Linked DNA regions of Homo sapiens: regions 2, 3, 4, 5, 6 and 7 are each linked to region 1. The links are contacts of gene promoters, found by promoter capture Hi-C in blood cells and fetal thymus (Javierre and others, 2016). All regions are on one chromosome and are shown on one strand. Each heading gives the region's core, a stretch centred on a gene start or on the middle of the fragment in contact. The rest is flanking DNA. Distances are from core to core; before and after follow the strand shown. Region 1 holds the start of PSMD7 (proteasome 26S subunit, non-ATPase 7). Region 2 overlaps AP1G1 (adaptor related protein complex 1 subunit gamma 1). Region 3 holds the start of AP1G1 (adaptor related protein complex 1 subunit gamma 1). Region 4 overlaps ZNF821 (zinc finger protein 821). Region 5 has its middle 3.5 kb from the start of PKD1L3. Region 6 has its middle 9.1 kb from the start of HP. Region 7 has its middle 11 kb from the start of TXNL4B.

Region 1 (3,267 bases), core at 1-2,500:
GTCTCAGCCTCCCAAAATGCTGGGATTACAGGCGTGAGCCACCATGCTCGGCCTCGTGTTTTAAATAAAAACTGAAACCTCATCTATATATACATTTTTTTTTTTGAGACGGAGTCTAATCAGATTCCCATTTAAAAATGTTAATGGGTTAAAACCACAGCTGATCCAGGAAGCCCTTCGGGGTGCTGAGCATCATCCAGATTTCGATAACAGGAACTCGGTCAAATGAAGACAAACATAGATACGACCCTGGGGGCGGGGGTCAGGGCCAAATTGAAGCTAGCCCCCTTAGCCCCACTCCGGCATCATCCAGGCATCATTCACTTTGCATCATTCACATTTCGGTGAAATCAACTTGGTTAAACGAGGATAAACATAAATACGACCCTGGGGCCGGGGTCAGGGCCAAATGAAGGTAGCCACCCTGCACCCCACTCCAGCATCATCCATATTTCGGTGAAACCAATTCGGTCAAACGAAGATAAACATAGCCTTGGGGCGGGGCTAAATGGAGCTAGCCCACTCCGCCCCACCCAAGCATCATCCAGACATCAGTCACTTTGCATTATTCACATTTCAGTGAAATCAACTGAGTCAAATGAAGATACGACCCTGGGGTCGGGGGTCAGAGCCAAATGAAGCTAGCCCGCCTCCGCCCCACCCTGGCTTTATCCAGATTTCGGCAAAACGAACTTCAAAACGAAGTGACAGACACGAGCTTGGGGGCGGGGGTCAGGGCCAACTAAAGCTAGCCGCATCTCCCGACCCCCAGCATCATCCAGATTTCGGTAAAACGAACTTCGGCAAAACGAACTCGGAAAGGGAACTCTGTAAAACAAACAGGCTAAACGGAACAGGCAGCCAAGGCCCCGAAGTGGCGGCGGCTGGGGCAGGGGCGGGAGGCTGGATGACTCCGGCATCGTGAGCCGACGCTGGTCTGGACTCGTGAACAAGTAAGGGTCACCAGCCGCCCTATCTGCGTCCCCAGCTCGTCCGCGGCCGCCGCGCCATCTCCAGCGTGCCCGTGACTCAGCAGCGGCTGCGCCGCCGGCCCAGCTATAGGGCGCTCGCTCACCGGTTGAAATGATCCACCACACTGAGCAGCACCAGGGGGTGGACCACCACCTTCTGCACTGCCAGCTCCGGCATCGCGACACACCCCGCTCGCCAGGCCTGGCTCCCTGCCACACGCAAACACCGGCAGCAGTAGCGGTCACCGGTACCCTTTCAGGCCCAGTTCCTCTTCTTCCGGTTCGTCAGCCCTCGCGCGGCCTCCTTCTTCCGCTCCCAGAGTGCCTCGCGCGGCGGGCCCGGATCTTCGCCACCGCCGTCATTTGTGGGCGGAGAAAGGGCTGGAGAAAGGCGGGAATCGCCCCTCGTCCCTCGCCGTGCGTTTCCCTGGACTTAAGGGCCGAAGGGACACCGGCGACTTGACCTCCTGGTATTGGCCTGTACCGTCACCTGCAGAGGCTTTTCGCCTCAATTCCTTCCCAGCACCCTCCCCCCGCCACCCCCCCAAAGTAAATAGTTGACAGTTTACTTTTCTACCACCCGGAAGAAGTTCACTTTTGCTTCAGGTCAAAATCCTCCGCGATTTCTGAGAGGAACTTTAAATCTCTAACATAAGAGCACGCTTTTAATGTAATTTGGTAATTTATCTCATTCTCGTTTTCATTGCCGGGGGAATTTCTCCTTTATCTTTACTGTGGACACTTTGCAATGAACGTGGCAACCTGCAGGTTTCCACCTGTCGTTATATTACTGCGTAACTAGGGCTAGAAGAACGCAATTGTGCCGTTGCTTTTGAAATCAAAATTTACAGAAGCGTTGAAGAAAAGACGGAAGGAAGGCAGTAAGGAAGTATGTTGTGATATGTAGCTAGGAAAGAGAAGACTAAGGTAGACAAAGACTTAAGCTTATTTGCAGGAGGCAAATTATAAGAAAAATCATACAGGTTTATATCGTCTCATTTGAAGTTGCTGTTTCTGTAAACGAAAACAGTACTTAAGCAACCTGAATTATTTACTTATATTTTGTTCTGTTTTTAAACAATTTTTGCTTTCCCTTTATCACCAGAGGATTTTCCCAACATTTTGGCCTCTTGTCTTTTTAAGGTGGACTTCCTGATCTCCAAATGTCAAGGGACACACTCAGTCTCTCTTATTTGTGGGTGGTGAAAAACATTAGCAAAGATTAGACTGAAATTTGGCCACCAATGAGAGACATTAATGTAGTCAGGAGTTTGAATTTGTCTGCATGTGAATTTATCTTTGTCTTCTGTCTGCAACTTGGCTTTATTTTCAGATTTTCTGCTAGATCTGCAAGGAAGTAAATGGCAGGATATGCTTAATATTCATAATTAATTGAAGAGACTCAATGCTATCTTTATTTTTTCATTTTTTTTTTTGGTACAGTTGGTGTCTCACTATGTTGTCCAAGCTGGTCTTAAACCCCCAGCCTCAAGCAATCCTCCCACCTCAGCCTCCCAAACTGCTGGGATTACAGGTGTGAGCTACTGTGCCTGGCCATTCATTCTTAATTATAACTAGAAAGATATAAGGGTTATGTTAATGGGGAAAGAAAACTAAGAATTATTGAATCTATTGAGTGCCTATAATATGCCAGCCCTGGTTCAGACGCAAATATTTAATCCTTTTAATTAATGCTTCTCAAACTTTGATATGCTTACAAATCACCAGGGGACCTTGTTAAAATTCAGATTCTGATTCTGTAGGTCTGAGATGGGACCTGAAATTCTGAGCTTCTAACAAGCTTTCAGGTGAGGCCCATGCTGTGTTAACAAGGCTTGTAACAACCTTACGAAGTCGGTATTTTCTCATTACAAATGAAAATTGTTGCTCAAATGTTGCTCTCGAGGTGGGCTTTTTCTCACGCTTTGAAAAAATTTTGTCTTTCTCCCCCTAATGTGTTTCTGCTTTAGTTTTCTCCATAGTTTTTACCACTTGTGAATAGTTTGTAGAATTTACTTATTCTGTTCATTCTTTGTCTCTCATTAGAATGTAAGCTCTTGTTTAGTTTGTAAACTCCTGTTTACTTTTTTTTTTTTTTTTAAATAAATGAGAGACAGTCTCGCTCTGTCACCCAGTCCGGAATGCAGTGGCACAATCTTGGCTCACTGCAACCTTCACCTCCCAGGTTCAAGCGATTCTCATACCTCAGCCTCCCAAGTAGCTGGGACTACAGGTGAGCGCCACCATGCCCCACTAATTTTTCTATTTTTAGTAGAGATGGAGTTTCACTGTGTTG
Region 2 (3,267 bases), core at 257-2,756, 2.6 Mb after region 1:
GGAGAGGAGGCTCTGACACATTATAGATTATGCAGGCTTTAAAAAACAAAAGTTCAAGTCTCTGCATCCCAGTTATCCAATCACACAAAAGCCTAAAAGCTTATAGTTGGTGACCAGTATGTTGGTTTGCTATTTTTGGGAAGCTTTTCTTTTCATTTCTTTCTGGCTGTTTTTTAAGCCAAAAGCACCGATATTTTACTTGCATAGTTGATCAGTTACCATTAAGTGAAGTTGCCAGAAGAAGAATTGGTCAGCTTTTGAAAAGAGGTAGGCTAGAATTCCTTCTGCCAGAAAGGAGAATGTGGTTTATTACTAGTTGTCATGATCAAAGAACCGAACAGTGGATTTTTACAAATACCACAGGGAGTCAACTCACGTGCTGTGAATTCCTGATATCTAGAAAACAAGTAGTAGGCAAAACTTAGTAGTAGTGAAATCTGTTGCTTGACCCATCATCTGGGTGTCTAAATGGTTTTTGGTATCTCTGACCTAGCGTTGTGTAATTCTTTTTCTGAAGAGTGCCCTTTGTTCCCCCCTAGACATTCCAGCTGCAGCTCTTGTCTCCTAGCAGCAGCATTGTCCCAGCATTTAACACGGGGACCATCACACAAGTCATTAAAGTTCTGAACCCTCAGAAGGTGAGTAGCACATTTGTAGCCAATATCTGAGCCGAAGTGTAAGCATATTTCCCGAAATAAAATTCTGCTTTGTTTCTTTAGGTTTTTCTGACTCATAGTTAGAGAAGAGATCAATGAAAATGCCTGGTCTAACTTCCTTGCTCTTTTGTAAATAACAAATGGAACCCAGAGACATCAGGTGGCTTAGTGGCATCTTATTAAAATGCAACTTCAAAAAAAGCTAGATTAAAGGTCTGGTTTTTGGGGGTAGGGGAGAAGCTTAGACATTTTAATTTATACACAAGTTGAAATCTGAGGTAAGAGCATTTGTTGAAACCAAATACCTACATTTACTGCTACAGTTATTAAGTATGAATAGAAAAATAGAGGCATTTTAAATGAAGCAGCCAAATGAAAAATAGCTTTAGAAACTGAAATTAAGCAATATTTTTATTATCTCTTCTCAAAGAAATAAGCTCACCTTAATAGTAATCAGTTGGTTTTCAGTTTTTGAAAATGGTTCAGAGAATTTCTTTAATAGAGCTCTACTAGTTGCTCATAAGTAACAGTATACTTTCTTTCTCTTGTAACACTTGCCTTTCCTCTGCTATTCACTATATTTTGAGCATCGGCCTCTATAGTACAAGCACAAACTCCTTTGACCATCTGATACAGAGAGTAAAAAATGTCTTAGTGCATTTGTATTTGAAATCTGCCATACAAAAAGTGTCTAATTGAGTTCTCTTAAAACTACTGCTGTTACCTGTGAGTTAAGTCATTTTTTAAAATTTTATGCTTTAGGAACAAAAGGTCATGTTCACATTTACTGTAGGTTTTTCAGATAAAGCAACAGTGTATCTGAATGGAGAGCGTACGATGAGTATATGTTCACCTCATTTTTTAAGAGACTTGGATACAAGGTTTGAATCTTTTTGAAAAGGACTCAGCAAAATGTTACTAGGAGAATGCTCCATGGTGGCTCACGCCTGTAATGCCAGCATTTTAGGAGGCTGAGGTGGGTGTATTATCTGAGGTCAGGAGTTGAAGACCAGCCTGGCCAACATGGTGAAACCCCGTCTCTACTAAAAATAAAAATATTAGTCTGGTGTGGCGGTGAGCCAAGATTGTGCCACTGCACTCCAGCCTGGGCAATAAGAACAAAACCCTGTTTCAAAAGAAAAGAAAAGAAAAAATGCTCCCAAGGAGTTCTGTCCTTTTAATGCAGTTCAAGGATTAAAGCTAACCGTGTATTCTGCAGATGCGCTTTCTCAACTTGGTGGCATGACATTGTTAGCTTCTTGGCTCAAGCCTAGAGTACTGGGTGTTTTTTGTTGTTGTTTACCTGTCATTCTTAACAGACAGCTTTGCTTTAAGTTTTGACCTCTAAGATTAAAAGTCTATTTGTGGACCGGACAGATTCTGGAGATTTCATTTCAGTATATAATTTGCACTTCTCTTTTCCTCTTATAGCAACAGCTGCGAATGCGGATCAAGCTTACATATAATCACAAGGGCTCAGCAATGCAAGATCTAGCAGAGGTGAACAACTTTCCCCCTCAGTCCTGGCAATGAGGGTTTGGCACCATTCTCATTCTTTATCCCACTCAATCAAAGGAACTCTGGGAAGGAGGTTGTGATTGCTGGCAAGTCCCCCCCAACTGTACCACGGGCATGAGGAGCTGAAGAGAACTGCTGAGGAGGATTTTCCTAAAGTTACTGCTGACCTTGAAGCATTGTTAAAGACTAATGTCCTCTCCTCCACTGTTGAGGCTGGCTGCTTCTGGAGGCTACTTTGCACTCTTCCTCTTCTCCTTTTTCCGCACTTCTCCACCCCTCCCACATTTACAGCCAGAATCAACATTCCCTGGGCCCCTGAGGAAATAAGCAGCTGGTCTGGAGGAGAGGACTGCAATCCATGGCGAAAAAACACTCACTTTGTCTCTGCAGCAAAGAGTTGCCCCTTCTTTCTACTGTTGTTTCTCTGTGGACTGGGCAAGGTGGGGTATTTATTCCTCACTAGCTGGGTTACCATCTTCAGGCACTTTTAACATCTGGCATTCGGAATGGAAATGTAATAATGGACATTAGGGAGCCCTGCCTTTTTCTACTGGTTCCCCCAATGTTTGAAAGAGGCATTAGGCTCCTGGTAGCCTTTTCTGTGCATTGCTGTATACACACAGACACACACATGTATGTTTGTTACCAAGAACTGGTCAGACCTTGCGAGTTTATTTGTAAACACTGGACAGATGGAGTTAAAAAGAGCTTTTGTTGAGATTTGGCATGAAGGATATGGTGCTCTATTTGTAATAGAAACTTCCAAGGCTCTTCCAGCTCCCCTTTCTCGCCATTCTTTAGCTGTAGTCATGAATAGTCTCCATGATTTTCAAAATTGATTCCCTTTAAAGTGCAAAATGGTCACCTTCTAAAAGATATATTCATAGTTATTAATGACCCTATTCCCACCACAAATTTTAAAGTGCTCCTAAGCCCATAACTTGCCTGTTTGAACTATGGTAATGGGTGGAAGAGGAGTTCACCAGTTTCAAAGATCAGACTCTGTATCAAAAGTACCTTTGCCCTTAGGAAGAGTGAGTATTGGAGTCATCTTATCTATTACTCCAAACCTCCCTTTTTATTTCTTGAGCCT
Region 3 (3,267 bases), core at 473-2,972, 2.5 Mb after region 1:
CTATCTGCAACCTCTGCCTCCCAGGTTCAAGCGATTCTCCTGTCTCAGCCTTCCGAGTAGCTGGGATTACAGGTGCCCACCACCATGCCCGGCTAATTTTGTATTTTTAGTGGAGATGGAGTTTCACCATGTTGGCCAGTCTGGTCTCGAACTCCTGACCTCAGGTGATCCGCCCACCCCGGCCTCCTAAAGTACTGGGATTACATGCGTCAGCCACTGTGCCCGGCCTACTTAGAGCAATTTTTGTTAAGTGTTTTGAAATCCCTGCATGAAAATGACTAAGGAAAAAAGTGCAACCTTCTCTCTATGACACCCAAATCCTAAACTCAAGATTTGTGGTTAGTTCTGGCCAGGCCGGTGGCTCACACCTGTCATCTCCACACTTTGGGAGGCCGACGCAGGCAGATCACCTGAGGTCAGGAGTTCAAGACCAGCCTGGCCAACATGGCGAAACCCTCTCTCTACTAAAAATGCAAATATTAGACGGCCGTGGTGGCGGGAGCCTGTAATCCCAGCTACTTGCGAGGCTGAAGCACGAGAAATTGCTTGACCCCGGGAGGCAAGGTTGTAGTGAGCCGGGATCCCGCCACTGCACTCCAGCCTGGGCAACAGAGCGAGACTTTGTCTCAAAAAAAAAAAAAAAATTTTTTTTGTGTGGTTGGTTCTGTTCTCTTTGGCACCCAGCCTGCTGCTGTGTTGTATTGTACTTTGTTGCCAATCTAGCAGAAGGATTTTAGTCTAGGTAGGTCACCTTTCCTTTAAACAGGCCAAGATATCAGGCCCTCTTTACATTCACATGGAAAAGACTCACGTCATATGTTAGTAATTATTTATCAGGTTAGGAACTGTCTGGTTAGACTTTCTTTGGCCCTGGTTATTAATTCATGGAGTCATAGACCGAAAGCCCATTCTGTAAGGGTTTCAGCTAACATGAGTCCAAGTCTTCTTTCTACATATGAGGAAATTGAATCCCTGGAGAGTTTAAGTGACTTGAGCAGTGCAAGCACCGCGGTACCGGGCGTGGAATCCATTCTTTTCAGTCATCCTCTTAACTCTTCATAAAATATGTTGCAAAGACACCATAAAACCATAGAATACCACCTGGAGCATGCTCCTTAAGTTATAAAGAAAGCAAAAATCTTAAAGGAGACAGCAAAGAGTTCGGGATTCCCGTGGACGAAGACCTTTTCAGCCCTGCTGTCTTCTCCGCCCCCACCTGTCTCGCTTGCTCTCACTTCCTGGGCTACCTGACTTAGCTCCGCCCCCTCCAGGTGGCTCCACCGCTTCCTGGTAGCCCAGCTCCACCCCCCCTACCCCCCCACCCCCCTACCCCCCACCCCCCTACCCCCTCACCAAGCGGAACCAATGTCCGTCCGCTACGGGGTAGGCCGGATCTTTCTCGCTCAGACTCATCGCAGCGGTGACTCGGCAGCAGCGTCTCGCGTCATCAGTGACAGCCCCGATCCTTGCTACGTTTGCGTCGCTCTGCCAGGAGCAGTCGCCTCCTCCTTGGCAAATAGTCCTCGGCAGGGTCCGAGTTCTTGGATAATTCGAGAGAAAAGGCACGATAAGTTGCAGTACGAGGACACGGAAACGACCAGGAGAGGAGGACAGGGAGCGAAGTTTCCTCAATAGTGTGTGAAGTTAGTTAAAAACTCCCTCCTTCCTCAGGATCCCTCCGCCTGCGGTAGCGGTGGTGAGGCCGAGGGAGCCGCCATTTTGGATGTTCGGTTCCTGCTGCCACTGCTGCCGCCGCCCCCGGAGCTGCTGGTTTCATTCGAGGTTTCGGGCCGGTGAGTGTCACTCCCGGCGCTGAGAGCATATTGCTGCTTTTGCCCCGCCGCTGCCGCGGGCGCTCGACCGGAAGCTTCCTTTCAGTTTCAGGGGTCCAGTCCCAGGCTGTGGGTGTTGAGAAGAGAAGACAGAGAAGCTGGGCCAGGAGAGGCCGGGAGCCCCAGGGGCTGCTCCGACTTCTGGAGGGCCGACCCCGAGGCCTCGGACCGGGAGGTTCCGCGCGCCGCGGCGTTCCGTGTTGTGGCGTTGCCCCGCCGGTACGGGCCTCCTTGAACCCTTGACTTTCTCAGGCTGCGATCTTTGAGGGCTCATTCAGGGAGCCTGGGGTTTAGCGGGGCGGGCCCCACCCCCGCGTGTCTTCTCTGAGCCACGTATCAGCGTTCTTGTGTCTTGTACCCGTGTCAGGTCTGTCAGATAACTCCCAGCATATCCAAATGCCCAGTTAATCGCTGCCTGCCCCTGCAGTGCCGTCCTCTCGGAACCGGACATCGGCCTCGCCTCTCTCTAACCTTCCGACCAACTTCTTTCCCAATTTTTCGTGTGTGTGTGTATATGTTGTTGTTTTGTTTTTTTCAACCTACCTGCGAGTATACTGTTTACCCTTTTCTCAGCTCCTGGCCCTGCGGACGTCAGCGTCTAATAATTCTCCCGGTCTTCCTGATTGCCTGAAAGAGTCGGGACGGTTCGGTTGATTGTGTTTCCCGGTTAGGACTCGGTGTAGGAGATCCATCGAACCACTCGCTCAGGGTAATGTTTATGAAGCAGATTATGTTTATGAAGCAGATTAAATGGCTTTTGGGAGGCAAGAGCTGTCAAATGTTTTCTCATATGTGGATTCCCTCCCTGTGCTGAATACTTAGCTTTTTGGTGCTTACTGACACTTGTGTGGTATTTTTTTTTCTCCCCTATTATATATCCCTGAGCACGGAAATCTGTCCATGGAGAAAAATATTAATCTGAGGTAGGTAGAAAGGAGAGTTGGGCTGCTTTACAGTGATTAGTTAACAGAAGGGAGGAGTTAGTGCTTTCTTAGTGACCTTAACTTTGAAGTGTTTGTACAGTAATGATCTTTGCTGACTGATTCTAAAAAATACTTGTAATGATTTCATGTATTGGGTTTTTCTGGGGATAGCTGAATTTTAAATATTCACTTCCACCGTTCCCTAGAATACTTGTCAAATACCTAACTTGTCACACACCCTAACTTTCACGTTTGAAAAATATGAACCCTCTAAGTACTCGTAATCTCGTCACTTTTATTCTAAAGGCATGTTTGCAGTCTAGCATGCTTGAATAAAAAGTATGTCTTTATTTTTATTTATTTATTTTTTGAGACGAAGTCTCCCTCTGTCTCCAGGCTGGAGTGCAGTGGCACGGTCTCGGCTCACTGCAACCTACGCCTCCCGGGTTCAAGCAGTTCTCCTGCCTCAGCCTCCCAAGTAGCTGGGACTACAGGCACACGCCGCCACGCCC
Region 4 (3,267 bases), core at 457-2,956, 2.4 Mb after region 1:
CTGGGGCACTCTTTCTGTAGTTAATCAGGAACCTTCAGGCTTACGTATATATCCCCTCCTATATGGGGTGGGGAGCAGATGCATGTCTTGGCAGCATTTTTCGTTTGGGGAACTTTTCTCTTTATTCCTCCCACTGTTCTCTTTGCTACCCAGAGGCTAGATTGAGAAGAGCCTCTAAAGTTATTAACTTTGACCACCTCTCTGGAATGTGTGAGGAGGGCCAGGTGGTATTCCACACTGGGGTGTTGAATTAGTACTCATCAATGTGGATGGCATCTGTCTCTTCTGGTGAGAGCCCATCTTCAACATTAGAAGTTTGATTTGCTTAGTGCCATGTCATTCACAGTGCAGCATAGCATTGCGCCTGTATCACCAGATAGAGGCTTTATTTCCCATGCTGTTCTCATTTACAGATGCCTATTTGAGACATTTTCTGTCTCGCAGGGATGTGATGCCTTTGCTACCTCTAGGCAAGATAACATCATGAAAAATCCGCTGGTGTAGACTGCAGGGCTTGACTTCCAGTGGGCATGTGACATGTGAGCTGCCACCCTCTTTGGCTTCCTTTTGCTTCCTTTTGCAATTCATCGGAGTTATCCCCTTGAGCCCACAGTACTTCTAACCCTGGATGCCTGAGTTTTACTTCCTCTTTTATCCTGTGACCTTGATCATGATCACTTAACAGTATTCTGGATTCCAAAGATGGATTTAGAGTATAATTCTCTAAGTCCTCTGAGGGAGTCCCCTCTTAAACTTTCTGGGACCTTGACGTTAGGCTAGAGATTTATTCATTTCTTTCTTTCTTTCATTAGTTCAATTATTTATAACTGGTGAGTTTTATATGCTCAGGAGCTGTTTTTTAAGGACATTTTATCTTTAAATTTTGTGTAACTGCTGGGGAAAATGACATGTGCTAACAATAACCTTTTTTATTGCAGGTTAGCATCTTGCAAGGAGGTAGTAACATATCCAGTCGTGAAACTGGGAAAGACCAGAGCTCTTGCATCAGGGAAACATGTCCCGTCGGAAACAGACAAATCCAAATAAAGTTCACTGTGAGTATCGGGCTTTGTCTTCTGGAACCTGGGAATGCTAAGGGGTGGAATGGAAGAGTAACCTGAATTTAGGGGAGAAGCTCACGCTAATTTGTGAAGAAGAAAAGTTTAAATGTAAAACACAGTTTGCTGAGCAGAAGAGAAAAAAAGAAAGAAAGAAAAAGGGTTAAAAATGTTGGAAATGGTGGATTTAAAGTGTGTCTGGTTGCTGGGGGAGGTGTTGGAAACCTATCTTAGGGGTATGTACACTTGATATATCTTTAATATCACATTAACAAACAGTTATAGGATACCTACTCTCTGCAGATCCTTGTGCTAGATGTCAGGGCTCTAAACCAATATAAGATCTATAAGACCGTATTGTAACCTCAGATATATAAATATGAATGATAGTATATGCTAATTGCCAAACAGATGCTGCAGACTGTATGTACTAGAGAAGTTCGGAGGAAGGAAGTTAAAAGAGCTCAGTGGACTGAAGTAGCAAGGGGAATGCTTAATGGAAAAGCCTCTAGACCATGCGCCTGAACTGGGCCTTAGAGGGTAGAAAATGGATTTGAAAAAAAAAATTAAAAAACAAGAGGCAGGGAGAGGGAACATCAGGTAGGGAAAGTGAAGTGAGCAAAGACAGAAGCGGGAATCCACATGTTCAGAGGACAAGGAGACTTTATATGAAGCAGAGGTCTCATTTGTTCAAAAGTCAGAAGATGTGAGGTTAGAGATGCTTAACTCTACACGTGGAAGGCTGAATGCCAGGCCAAGTTCAAAGTTCATTCTATAGTCCGTAGGGAACTACTGAAGGTTTTTAAGCAGGGAGAGGGGAGTGACATTTAGAATACAGCGTTTTGGTACTATGAAGCAATTTGTGGGATGGATCACAAGAGGGAGAGGCTAGAAACCAGAAGGCCAAGTATACACTATTACCTTGTGTTGTTTTCAACAGTGTCACATGCATGTTTTTCTTTGCTTTTTTTTTTTTTTTTGAGACAGAGTCTCGCTCTGTCACCCAGGCTGGAGTGTAGCAGTGTGATCTCTGCAACATCGGCCTCCTGGCTTCAAGCAATTCTCCTGCTGCAACCTGCCGAGTAGCTGGGATTAAGGTGCTCGCCACCATGCCCAGCTAATTTTTTTGTATTTTTAGTAGAGACAGGGTTTCACCATGTTGGCGAGGCTGGCCTTGAACTCCTGACCTCAGGTGATCTGGCCACCTCGGGCTCCCAAAGTGCTGGGATTACAGGCATGAGCCACCGCACCTGTTGCATATTTTATTTCAGTAATTGCATAGTAAACTTCTAGAAGGCAGAGACTATGTGCCATATGTATTTCCTTATGTATCCTCTTTACTTCTAGCACTACTCATAGAAGGTGTTCAAAAAGTGCCTTCTTAAATTGACATTAATATCTACACAGATTTGAGATAATTAGCCATTTTCCTATTATCTGGGAAGATAATCGTTCCCACCCAAATGTTCGTTAAAAAGACAAATAGTGGCCGGGCGCGGTGGCTTGCACCTGTAATCCCAGCACTTTGGGAGGCCGAGGTGGGCCATATCACCTGGGGTAAGGAGTTGGAGACCAGTCTGGCCAACGTGGCAAAAAACTCATCTCCACTAAAAATACAAAAAAAATTAACCAGGCATGGTGGCAGGCACCTATAATCCCAGCTACTCTACTTGGGAGGCTGAGGCAGGAGAATCACTTGAACCTGGGAGGTGGAGGTTGCAGTGAGCCAAGATCGTGTCACTGACTCCAGCCTGGGCAAACATAGACTCCATCAAAAAAAAAAAAAAAAAGACAAATAGTTCCCTATTATTATGAACTGTTTGAGTAAAGTGCAGCAACATTTGAAGAGAATTCAGAGGTATAACAGATGAAAAGTTTGTAAAAAACAAAAAACCTATATATGTGTGTATATATATATAAAATATATATACATATATATTTATATATATTTTATTTTTTTATATAATATATATAATTTTTTTTTGAGATGAGGTGTTGCTCTGTTGCCCAGGCTGGAGTGCAGTGGCGTGATCTCAGCTCACTGCAACCTCGACCTCCTGGGCTCAAGCGATCCTCCCACCTCAGCCTCCCGAGTAGCTGGGACTACAGGTGCATGCCACCACGCCCGGCTAAATATTTGTATTTTTTGTAGAGACGGGGTTTCACCATGTTGCCCAGGCTGGTCTTGAACTCCTGAGCTCAAGTGACC
Region 5 (3,267 bases), core at 318-2,817, 2.3 Mb after region 1:
TTCCATCACTGACAGACAGATCTTGGAAACAGAATTGTTCTACAAAGATATCCGCTCTGCCATTAACATTGGGTCTGTCTGTGTCTTGTGTTGGATCTGCTGCCCAAACCAGGACTATGAAGCAGGCGGCAGGTACCATGAAGCTGGAATTGGCTCAGGATCGTGAGGTTGCTGCTTTTGCCCAGTTTGGTTCTGACCTCAATGCTCCCACTCAACAACTATTGAGTCGCGGTGTGCGTCTAACTGAGTTGCTGAAGCAAGGACAGTATCCTCCCATGGTTACTGAACAACAAGTGGCTGTTATCTGTGCGGGTGTAAGGGGGTATCTTGATAAACTGGAGCCCAGCAAGATTACAAAGTTTGAGAATGCTTTCTTGTCTCATGTTGTCAGCCAGCGCTAAGCCCTGTTGGGCACTATCAGGGCTGATGGAAAGATCTCAGAAGACTCAGATGCAAAGCTGATGGAGTTGTAACAAATTTCTTGGCTGGATTTGAAGCTTAAACTCCTATGGATTCACATCAAATATCAGTTCAGTTTTGTCACTGTTTGTTCTAGTAAATTAGTTTCATTTGTAAAAGAGTTACTCTCATATTCCTTATGTACAAAAATCACATAAAAAAGTTTCCATAATGCATTAAAAAAAAAAAAAAGAGGAGAGTTCCGGGGACCAGGCAACCGCCACAGTTGAACGCTGCTGCTCCACGGTGGAGTCACCGCACCCCCGCCAGCATCATGGTGTTCTACTTCACCAGCAGCAGCGTTAATTCATCTGCCTGCGCTATTTACATGGGAAAGGATAAATATGAAATAGAGACAGGGTTTCACCATTTTGGCCAGAATGGTCTCAATCTCCTGACCTCGTGATCCGCCCACCTCAGCCTCCCAAAGTGCTGGGATTACAGGCATGAGCCACCGCGCCCGGCCCTTGAGTTTTATATCTCTCCTACTAACCCATAAATCATCATGAAGATCTGATGAAGCATGGCTGGCCTGAATATATCTGGTTTCGTGCGGACAGACTCTCTTTGGCTCATGTATACCTTCAATTGCATAAGGGAGAGAATATAGAGGACATTCCAAAGGAAGTGCTGACAGACTGCGCCCACCTTGTGAAGGCCAATAGCACTCAAGGCTGCAAGAACAACGTTAATGTGGTAAATACTCCACGGTCTAACCTGAAGAAAACAGCTGACGTGGATGTGAGGCAGATAGGCTTTCACAGGCAGAAGGATGTAAAAATTGTGACAATGGAGAAGAAAGTAAATGAGATCCTGAACCGATTAGAAAAAACCAAAGTGGAGCCGGGCACGATGGCTCATGTCTGTAATCCCAGCACTTTGGGAGGCTGAGGAGGGCGGATCACGAGGTCAGGAGATCGAGACCATCCTGGCTAACACGGTGAAACCCCGTCTCTACTAAAAATACAAAAAATTAGCCGGGCGTGGTGGCAGGCGCCTGTAGTCCCAGCTACTCGGGAGGCTGAGGCAGGAGAATGGCGTGAACCCGGGAGGCGGAGCTTGCAGTGAGCTGAGATTGCGCCACTGAACTCGAGCCTGGGCGACAAAGCAACAGTCTGTCTCAAAAAAAAAATAATAATAATCTTCATTTCTGTTAAGAAGAACATGTTGGTGGGTAATTATGCGAATGTTTCCCTGTCCCTGATTTCCCAATTAGAAAAAACAGCATATGAGTTTTGGAAAAGAGAGTTCCAGAAGATTGTTGGCTTCAGTATTCACGTTCCATCGTGTCGTCTGGGTCTGTTAGTGTAGTGACCCTCAGCGCAGCCTGTCCTGGCTTTTACGTCCTTGCTTCCTCTGAGCAGGGGCCTCCATCTTAGTATCATCATATTTAAAGAAATCAATGGTGTTCATCAAGGTGGGGCCTGTGGCAGTTGTTGCCTGGGCACCAAGTCACCCAAGTCACCTACACAACAACTTCTGGGCTCAGGAGTAATTTCTCAGCACTGAGGGTAAAATAGGAAGGAACGCTCTGTTGATCATTTGGGAGATGTAGGTTACCTGATTGGTGCCTTGGAATGCAGCATGAAGCAGAAGTCCATATTGCAATTATGATTTTAGAAGGAACTAAGCATTTCACCAGCCAGCCAAGTAATTATTTTCTTTACCTTGAAATCATATTTGAGTTGTAACCCCAGAGTTCAATTTCTCATTGTAAATTCAGTAACTTACTATGTAACATTACTTCTCACTTGAACCTCTCACTATCTGTTTTGATTCCGAGCAGAAGATGTCTTTTGATTGCAGTATGTAAGGTAACCCCTGTAGAAGGAGACCAAACAAGGAGAAAGAGAACAAAGCCTGCAGGACCAGAGGCATACAGATAGACATTTTACTCACACCCACAGCAGCAAGAATGACCTCCTGCAGCAGATACTCCACCTGTAATAGCACTTTGGAACTGTGGGCAAAACCAAAAGGCTAGTGTTTCCATTTATGTATGGGGTTGAACTGGAAAATTCCCTGAGGCATAATTCATTGGCCAAATTTTGAGAGGGTATAGAAGATGACTTTAGAGATGAGTGGTTTTGTGTATGTGTCTAATGATATTCAGCCTGACGTTCTGCAATTTTAAAAATTATAATAAAGTATCATTTTTTAATCTGGAAAAAAAGCTTGAAACATATGTGTGGATGTATCATGCATTTATTTATGTATGTATATGAAGATGTTTAGAAGTTGAGGCTCTGTGAACTTTGAAAACAAAAGCATCCCACATCCAGATGATTCCATTGTCACAAACTCTTGAAAGGGTGGACTACTCTGCTCAGAAACCTTCCAAATAAACTGCAAGCCCTTTATTCTGGCATTTGAAACTCTCCCATTTTCTGGTTACAGTTCCTACTACTGTTCCACCAAGTACCCCCTACATGTACACACACACACACACACACACACACACACACTCAAGTATTTCTTTCTCTTTATCAATACCTTCCACTTTCCCACCTCTGTGTATTTATTCACATCGACTCCTCTGTCGAGATGTCCATTTCATCTGTCTAAATATTGCCATCTTAATATGTTCATTCCAAAAGCTGGAAGTAATTTCTTCCTTATCTGAACCTTCCCAGCAGCACCTAAGCTGTCCCTCTGGGCTGGCACTTTTCACTGCCTATATTAATTACAATTATTATGCCTTTTCTTCCCTAATTGGACTTTATGAAAGGGAGGATCATACTGTATTTATCTTTCATTTGATTACTGCAGTGTTTTTGGTGTTTTTCTTTTGGGTTTTTTTTTATTGTT
Region 6 (3,267 bases), core at 332-2,831, 2.3 Mb after region 1:
TCCTATATGTTTTTCTAAAAGTGTATTGTTTTACCTTTCAAATCTAGGTCTATGATCCATTTGGAATTAATGTTGGTATAGGATGTGAGAGAAAAGTTCATTTTTTCCATATAGGCATGCAATCGATCCAGTATTATTTGCTAAAATGACCATCCTTTGTCCCTGAATTCCAGTGGTATCTTTATTATACATCAGGTGATTATATATGTGTTGGCCTCCTCCTGAATCCTCTATTCTTTTCCATTAGTCTATTTGTCTAATCTGGAGCCATTGTCATACTGTCTTAATAATGTGTGAAAGGAGGTTGGGTGCGGTGGCTCACGCCTGTAATCCCAGCATTTTGGGAGGCCGAGGCGGGTGGATCACGAGGTCAGGAGATCGAGATCATTCTGGCCAACATGGTGAAACCCCATCCCTACTAAAGTACAAAAAATTAGCTGGGCATGGTGGCGGGCGCCTGTAGTCCCAGCTACTCGGAGGCTGAGGCAGGGGAATCGCTTGAACCCGGAAGGCGGAAGTTGCAGTGAGCTGAGATCGCGCCACTGCACTCCAGCCTGGGCGACAGAACGAGATTCTGTCTCAAAAAATAAAAATAAAAAAATAAATAATAATAATAATAATAATAATAATAATGTGTGAAAGGAAACTATCTTAAACCCCCAGAATCACTAAGCTAAAGGGAAAAGTGAAGCAGAGAACTGCTTAGGGCAAACCTGCCTCCCATTCTATTCAATGCCACCCCTCTGCTCACTGAGATAAATGCATATCCTTTTGCCTCTTTTGGAGAGGCTCATCAGAACCTCAAAAGAATGTAACCATTTGTCTCTTATCTACCTATGACCTGGAAGCCCCCTCCTGGCTTTGAGACTTGTCCCGCCTCTGCGGACGGAACCAGTGTTCATCTTACGTATGTTGATTGATGTCTCAGGTCTCCCTAAAATGTATAAAACCAAACTGTGCTCTGACCGCCTTGGACATATATCAGGACCTCCTGAGGTTGTGTTGGGTGTGCGTCCTCAACCTTGGCAAAATAAGCTTTCTAAATTAACCGAAACCTGTCTCAAATTTTGGGGGTTCACAAATGGGAACTTTTTTTGAGACAGGGTCTCACTGTCCCCCAGGCAGGAGTGCAGGGACACAATCTGCAGCCTCAACAATGATCTCCAACAATCCTCCCACCTCAGCCTCACAGGTAACTGAGACTACAGGTATGCGCAACCACACACAGCCAACTTGTTGTTGTTGTAGTTGTAGAGATGTGGTTTTGCCATGTTGACCAGGCTGGACTTGAACTCTTGGGCTCAAGTGATCCACCCACCTCAGCTTCCTAAAGTGCTGGCATTACAGGCATGAGCCTCCACACCTGGCCAATAATGGGAACTTTATACTAAATCTTGCTATCTGGTATTATAAGTGTTCCAACTTTATTTTCTTTCAGAGTTTGTCTTGACTATTCTAGGTCTTTTCCATTTTATGTAAATTTTAAAATCAACTTTCCAATTCTCACAAAATGTCCTGATGGGATTTTTATTGGGATTACATTGAATCTCCAGATCACTTTGGGGAGAGTTGACATCTTGACTCTGTTGAGTCTTTCGAGTAATGCACGTAGCATCTCTCTTCATTTATTTAGGCTGTCTTTAATTTTAATGCCTTGTTCATATTGATACAGACCTCTGGCACCTCTTTCATTAGATTTATTCTTAAGCATTTGATGTTTATGTTATTGTAAATGATATTTTTTAATTGATTTAAATAGTATAGGAATAAATACCTCAGTAGCCATGAAATGAGAACCCTGGATTTTCACAAGAGTATACATGACCTTCAAACAGAATGGAGAGTGGACTGTTGAATTCAGAACAGCACATGTTGTTCAGAATTGCAGTTTATCTTGATAAGAAAATTAAACAAAGACATTCACATGATTACACCTATTTCTAGAATTTCTCCTTTTTTTCACAGTCACCAGGACCAGGGGCTACAGGGTCCCACGGTGCCTGGAACATAGGCATTGCTTCCCAGTTGCACTGCCTTACGGTCAGCAATTCTCTTCTCCAAAACTGAGCCACTGGCAGACACACATATTGATATTTTGTACCATACACATTGATATTTTAAGCTTTTTAAGAGCTTCTTAAAAGTAGGATCATCCCTGACAGTTTGTAAATGAGGAACTTCCAAGATCCAGGCTGCTAAATCAAATATTATCCTCAGACCAGCTTCCTGTCAGCAAAGACAGCCAACCAAGGTGGGAAACCCACACAGCCTGTCAAAACTTACAAAGAAATGCTGCCTTTCCCAGCATGAAACTGGTCAGATGTCAAAGGCATGAGGATATTAGTACGAGTGTAAAAACTGACTCTATATTCAAAAGAATTCATATCAACCTTCCTTAATTTCTTCAACCTACCACGTTTGTGGGATGGGTCCCAGGAAACAAGGTAGGACCAAGTCGGTGTTTTTTCATTCACCCTTATCTCCATGGCCCAGCAATGCCTGGCATACAACAGAGGCTCAGTCCGGTTGGTTGAATTGAATGGGGGATAAACATAGCCTCTGCCTTCAAAGAGTTCAGAATAGGGGCAGAAATAAAAACTGTAACACGAGTAAGTAATGCCTGTATTGTCATCTTCTGTCTGCAGTGGAGAAGATCCAGCCCTCAGAAGCATAAAAGCTGTCCGCAGAACCAGCCCTGCAGGTACTTTAGGAGAAAAGCCAGTCAACTCCTAGTAATAACAGGTAACATTGGGAGGGTTCTGTGTGCCAGGCACTGTGCTATGTGCTTTCTGTGTATTTACTCATTTAATTCTTCAACAGCCCATAAGCATTGGGTCTTTTTATTATCTAATAATCCCGTTTTTTATAAATGGGGCACAGAGAGGATAAGGAACTTGTTCAAGGTAACACAGCTAGCAAAGAGAGGAGCCAGGATTCAAACCCAGGCCAAGCCCTTGACCACCCTGGGGTGCTACCTCTCCCACATGACAAACTACACAGAATTCTCAAGACTCCCTCACATGTGCTGGGCACAGTGGCTCATGCCTATAATCCCAGCACTTGGGAGGACATGCTGGAGGATTGCTTGAAGCCAAGAGTTCAAGGTGAGCCTGGGCAACATAGGGAGATCCATCTCTACAAAAATAAAAAAATAAGAAGTTAGCCAGGCATAGTGGTATGCACCTATAGTTCCAGCTACTCAGGGGACTGAGTGGGGAGGATCACTTGAGCCTGGGAGAGGCTGCAGTGAGCTCTGATTGCGCCACT
Region 7 (3,267 bases), core at 260-2,759, 2.2 Mb after region 1:
TAATGTCATGTCAAGAGCTATCCTGTTTTCCCAGGCCATTTGGCTGGTGGGACCAAATTGCTCGGCTATCCCCAAATGGTATCTCTGGTATAATTAACAAATCCTTGTTGATTGTAATATATATAGTTTATCCAGTCTACGTTTTTGTTTATAGTAGACCACCAAAATAAGACTGACTCAAACCTGGCAGCTATTTGATTTCGAGCTTTAAATTCATTGGCGGCTACTCGTGGTACTCCAATTGCCTCTATATAGACATGGGGGTCAAAAGACCCTTGAGGAGCTTCTCTTTCTTCCCAAGAGGGTGACTTTTTGTCGGACTGATGAAATGCCAGGGTGAAAGAGATGGCCAGTTGGATTAGAGTGCAAGTGCTGCTCCAATTATTTGGCAGCATACCCAGTAGAGGTCCTCCACAATACCACCAAACATCTGCTTGTGGATAGACAAGGGCAGTCTGATTGGTGAGCTCTCGAAAAGGCTCGGATTCACTGCATCCCGTTAGATTCCTGAAAGATGTAAGTTTTCCCCGTCATGAGAGACAAGAGGTAAAATTGGCATCAGAGGCCAGGAGCCAGATGGCCCTTGGGGGCTGACCCACAGGGAAGTCTTTGACTTTTGGGAAAAGCAGTGAGAGACTGGTGCATGACTTATTACCCCAGGCTGTGGGGTGCTGGAAGAGAGCTACTGTACAGTCCATGCCCGGTTGGTTAGACCATCCAAGCAGGAAGGGAACTATTTGGATTTCTGGCCTGCCCATTGCACAGGCATAACAGTCGCTTTTATTTAAAGTGCAAACTGAATATTTGATCCATTTCAGCCAGGCATTCATTTCTTGGTGTCCGGTCTCGATGGCCAGGGTTTGTTTTAGGTCTTTGACTTCCACTATGTGCACTTTAGTTTTGTCATTAGGTAGTGGCAAGATAGTTGTTTCATTTGGAGGAGATCTTCGGGAAGGAAGGGGTGCTGGAGGGGCGACAAAACGAATCTCAAAGGACCCTATGGGGTCTTTCCCGCTAACATCTGCCCCATACCATAAAAGCGACTTAGGGTGGGAATATGGTTAGTGGAGGTTGAAGTAGTAATAGAAATATGCACCAGGTTACATCGGAGGTGTTGGCAGTTAGAGGAGTTATTTTGTTTAGTAAAATGGATATAAGGTTTTAGGGAGGTGCAGCCTGCTGAAGAAGTCCAGCCTTGGGACTGAGTGGTCCAGAGAATATCGTACCAGGAATGGCAAGGTAGCCAATTATAGGGAATCTTGCAAGGATCAGATTGAGGGTGGGGTGAGTACCAAGGGCAAAGATACTTTTCTGAAGAGGCTAGTTGCCTTTGACTTTGTAGGTCTCTGCAAGGTATGACTAGGCAAGCATCAAACACAACAGCTTGAGGGGAGGCTGACCTGGTTACATTAACAATGAAATGCGGGCTGGGCACGGTGACTCATGCCTGTAATCCCAGGACTTTGGGAGGCCGAGGCGGGCAGTTCACAAGGTCAGGAGATCAACCATCCTGGCTAACACTGTGAAACCCCGTCTCTACTAAAAATACAAAAAATTAGCCGGGCATGGTGGCAGGCACCTGTAGTCCCAGCTACTCGGGAGGCTGAGGCAGGAGAATGGTGTGAACCCAGGAGGCAGAGCTTGCAGTGAGTGGAGATCTTGCCACTGCACTCCAGCCTGGGCAACAGAGCGAGACTCCATCTCAAAAAAAAAAAAAAATGAAATGCCCCTGGGCAATTAGGGGGAAGAAGAGACAAATTAGACCTTTTTGAATGTTAATTTTGAGGGAGTTGGTCCTGGAGTGATGGTCCATGATTCCATAAGGGGTGGGGTCCTTTTTACCCAAGTGTGATGAGTCCACCCCTGTTCAGCCGTTCGGGCTGCTGTTTCAGTTGTTAGGAGTATTAGATAGGGTCCTTCCCACGATGGTTCGAGTTTTCCTCCCTCCAGCTTTTGATGAGCACATAATCCCCAGGCTGATGTGGGTGTACTGGAAACTCTAGAGGCGGCATTTGTGCTAAGAGGCCTTGGGTCCTGAGGGAAAAAAGGGTGGAAGATAGACCACGTATATAGTTTTTAAGAAATTGATGTTTTGTTTCAAATGTAGGGATGTCAGTGGTGGAATTTAAGCATGGCAATCTGTAGAGCGTTTCATAAGGGGACAGGCCGATATCTTTTCAAGGGGCGATACGAATTCTTAGTAAGGCGACAGGGAGGTACTTAGTTCATGGCAGTCGGGTTTCCAAGATTAGTTTAGTTAGGTGATTTATTTATTTTGATTCATTCTTTCTGCTTTTCCTGATGAGGGTGGGTGCCAGGGAGTATGATATTCCCATTTTATCTCTAGTGTCTGGGTTAATCCTTTAATGACCTGTGCAGTAAAATGGGTTCCATTGTCTGAGTCAATGTTCTCTATTAATCTGAATCTGGGTATGGTATCTTCTATTAGTACTTTAACTACATTATTGGCAGTTGCACTTGGCAGGTGAATGGCTTCCACCCAGTGAGTGAGATGGTCCACTATAACTGACAAACATTTGAGGCAGCCTATTTGGGGCATTTCGGTATAAGTCAATTTGGACACTTTGGAATGGCCTTAGCCCAGGATTTCTTCCGCCGAAGGGCAGTTTTCTTAAAGTTTGTTTATTGGTTTTTCTGCATACCATACAACTGTCTGTGACTTGCCTGGTGAGGGTATAAATCCCTGTACACCCATAGGTTCTAAGGACTGCATCACACATGGCTTGGGGACCCCAATGGGTCCCTTGGTGAAGTTGTGTTAAGATTTCTGTCATTAGGGGTTTGGACAACATTTCTTTGTTATCTGGCAGTATCCGTTTCTCTTCTGAGTTTTTGTTAGCCCCTATTTTCTTTAATTTTTCTTTGTCTGCTTGGGAGAAGATGGGGGTTGCAGATGGGGAAGGGAGACAAGGGGTTCAGTGGAAAATGGGTGCTTCTTGGGAAGTAACTCTTGAAAGAGAGACCTTTATGGTGTCCTGGGACATGAACAATGGCTATGTCCTCTGGTAGCTGAAGGTTTTCTAATACTTGCATGATTAACTCTTTGTGGACAAGGTTTTGGCCCTTGCTAGTAATAAGGCCTTGTTCAGTCCAAATCTTCCCAAAGGTATGGGCCACTCCAAAAGCATATTTGGAATTGGTGTAAATAGTCCCTTCTTGATTCTGCAGCTATTTTAAGGCTTGATTTAGTGCGAACAACTCACATGTTTGGTTAGACCAGTTATTGGGAAGTCTCCCTGATTCTAC

Evidence for each region. Contacts are between HindIII fragments. The CHiCAGO score rates a contact against its expected background, and 5 or more counts as called.
Region 2: a contact is called between a fragment that was not itself captured here and the fragment with the promoter of PSMD7 in region 1, in 1 of 17 cell types (monocytes). The highest score is 5.4, in monocytes.
Region 3: the fragment with the promoter of AP1G1 here is called in contact with the fragment with the promoter of PSMD7 in region 1 in 11 of 17 cell types (fetal thymus, naive CD8 T cells, total CD8 T cells and 8 more); the score reaches 12.7 in fetal thymus.
Region 4: a contact is called between a fragment that was not itself captured here and the fragment with the promoter of PSMD7 in region 1, in 1 of 17 cell types (neutrophils). The highest score is 6.1, in neutrophils.
Region 5: a contact is called between a fragment that was not itself captured here and the fragment with the promoter of PSMD7 in region 1, in 2 of 17 cell types (naive CD8 T cells and total CD4 T cells). The highest score is 5.5, in naive CD8 T cells.
Region 6: a contact is called between a fragment that was not itself captured here and the fragment with the promoter of PSMD7 in region 1, in 1 of 17 cell types (M2 macrophages). The highest score is 7.1, in M2 macrophages.
Region 7: a contact is called between a fragment that was not itself captured here and the fragment with the promoter of PSMD7 in region 1, in 9 of 17 cell types (non-activated CD4 T cells, total CD4 T cells, total B cells and 6 more). The highest score is 9.4, in non-activated CD4 T cells.

What each region holds. Positions count from the first base shown.
Region 1 is chr16:74,294,797-74,298,063 of GRCh38, reverse strand. It overlaps PSMD7 (proteasome 26S subunit, non-ATPase 7), which reads right to left and starts at 1,250. Exons shown (of 7, transcript NM_002811.5): 1 at 1,076-1,250. The coding sequence starts at 1,149. RefSeq lists enhancers at 236-1,125, 1,026-1,335, 1,126-2,017. The HindIII fragment of the contact is 3,645 bases long and covers 1-1,917 here.
Region 2 is chr16:71,731,980-71,735,246 of GRCh38, reverse strand. It overlaps AP1G1 (adaptor related protein complex 1 subunit gamma 1), which reads left to right. Exons shown (of 23, transcript NM_001128.6): 22 at 540-638; 23 at 2,088-3,267. The coding sequence ends at 2,189. Among named protein-coding and RNA genes, the nearest start is that of PHLPP2, 8.9 kb to the right of the region's middle. The HindIII fragment of the contact is 1,215 bases long and covers 899-2,113 here.
Region 3 is chr16:71,807,289-71,810,555 of GRCh38, reverse strand. It overlaps AP1G1 (adaptor related protein complex 1 subunit gamma 1), which reads left to right and starts at 1,722. Exons shown (of 23, transcript NM_001128.6): 1 at 1,722-1,793. LOC124903714 (a long non-coding RNA gene) reads right to left here and starts at 1,598. Exons shown (of 2, transcript XR_007065110.1): 1 at 1,354-1,598. RefSeq lists enhancers at 671-750, 1,311-2,000, 1,944-2,591. The HindIII fragment of the contact is 17,673 bases long and covers 1-1,869 here.
Region 4 is chr16:71,877,695-71,880,961 of GRCh38, reverse strand. ZNF821 (zinc finger protein 821) reads left to right here. Exons shown (of 8, transcript NM_001201552.2): 3 at 939-1,055. The coding sequence starts at 1,016. Among named protein-coding and RNA genes, the nearest start is that of ZNF821, 4.9 kb to the left of the region's middle. The HindIII fragment of the contact is 8,509 bases long and covers 1-3,267 here.
Region 5 is chr16:72,002,272-72,005,538 of GRCh38, reverse strand. It overlaps the pseudogene ATP5F1AP3. Among named protein-coding and RNA genes, the nearest start is that of PKD1L3, 3.5 kb to the right of the region's middle. The HindIII fragment of the contact is 2,136 bases long and covers 500-2,635 here.
Region 6 is chr16:72,043,736-72,047,002 of GRCh38, reverse strand. No RefSeq gene overlaps it. Among named protein-coding and RNA genes, the nearest start is that of HP, 9.1 kb to the left of the region's middle. The HindIII fragment of the contact is 1,087 bases long and covers 1,038-2,124 here.
Region 7 is chr16:72,080,649-72,083,915 of GRCh38, reverse strand. No RefSeq gene overlaps it. Among named protein-coding and RNA genes, the nearest start is that of TXNL4B, 11 kb to the left of the region's middle. The HindIII fragment of the contact is 8,593 bases long and covers 1-3,267 here.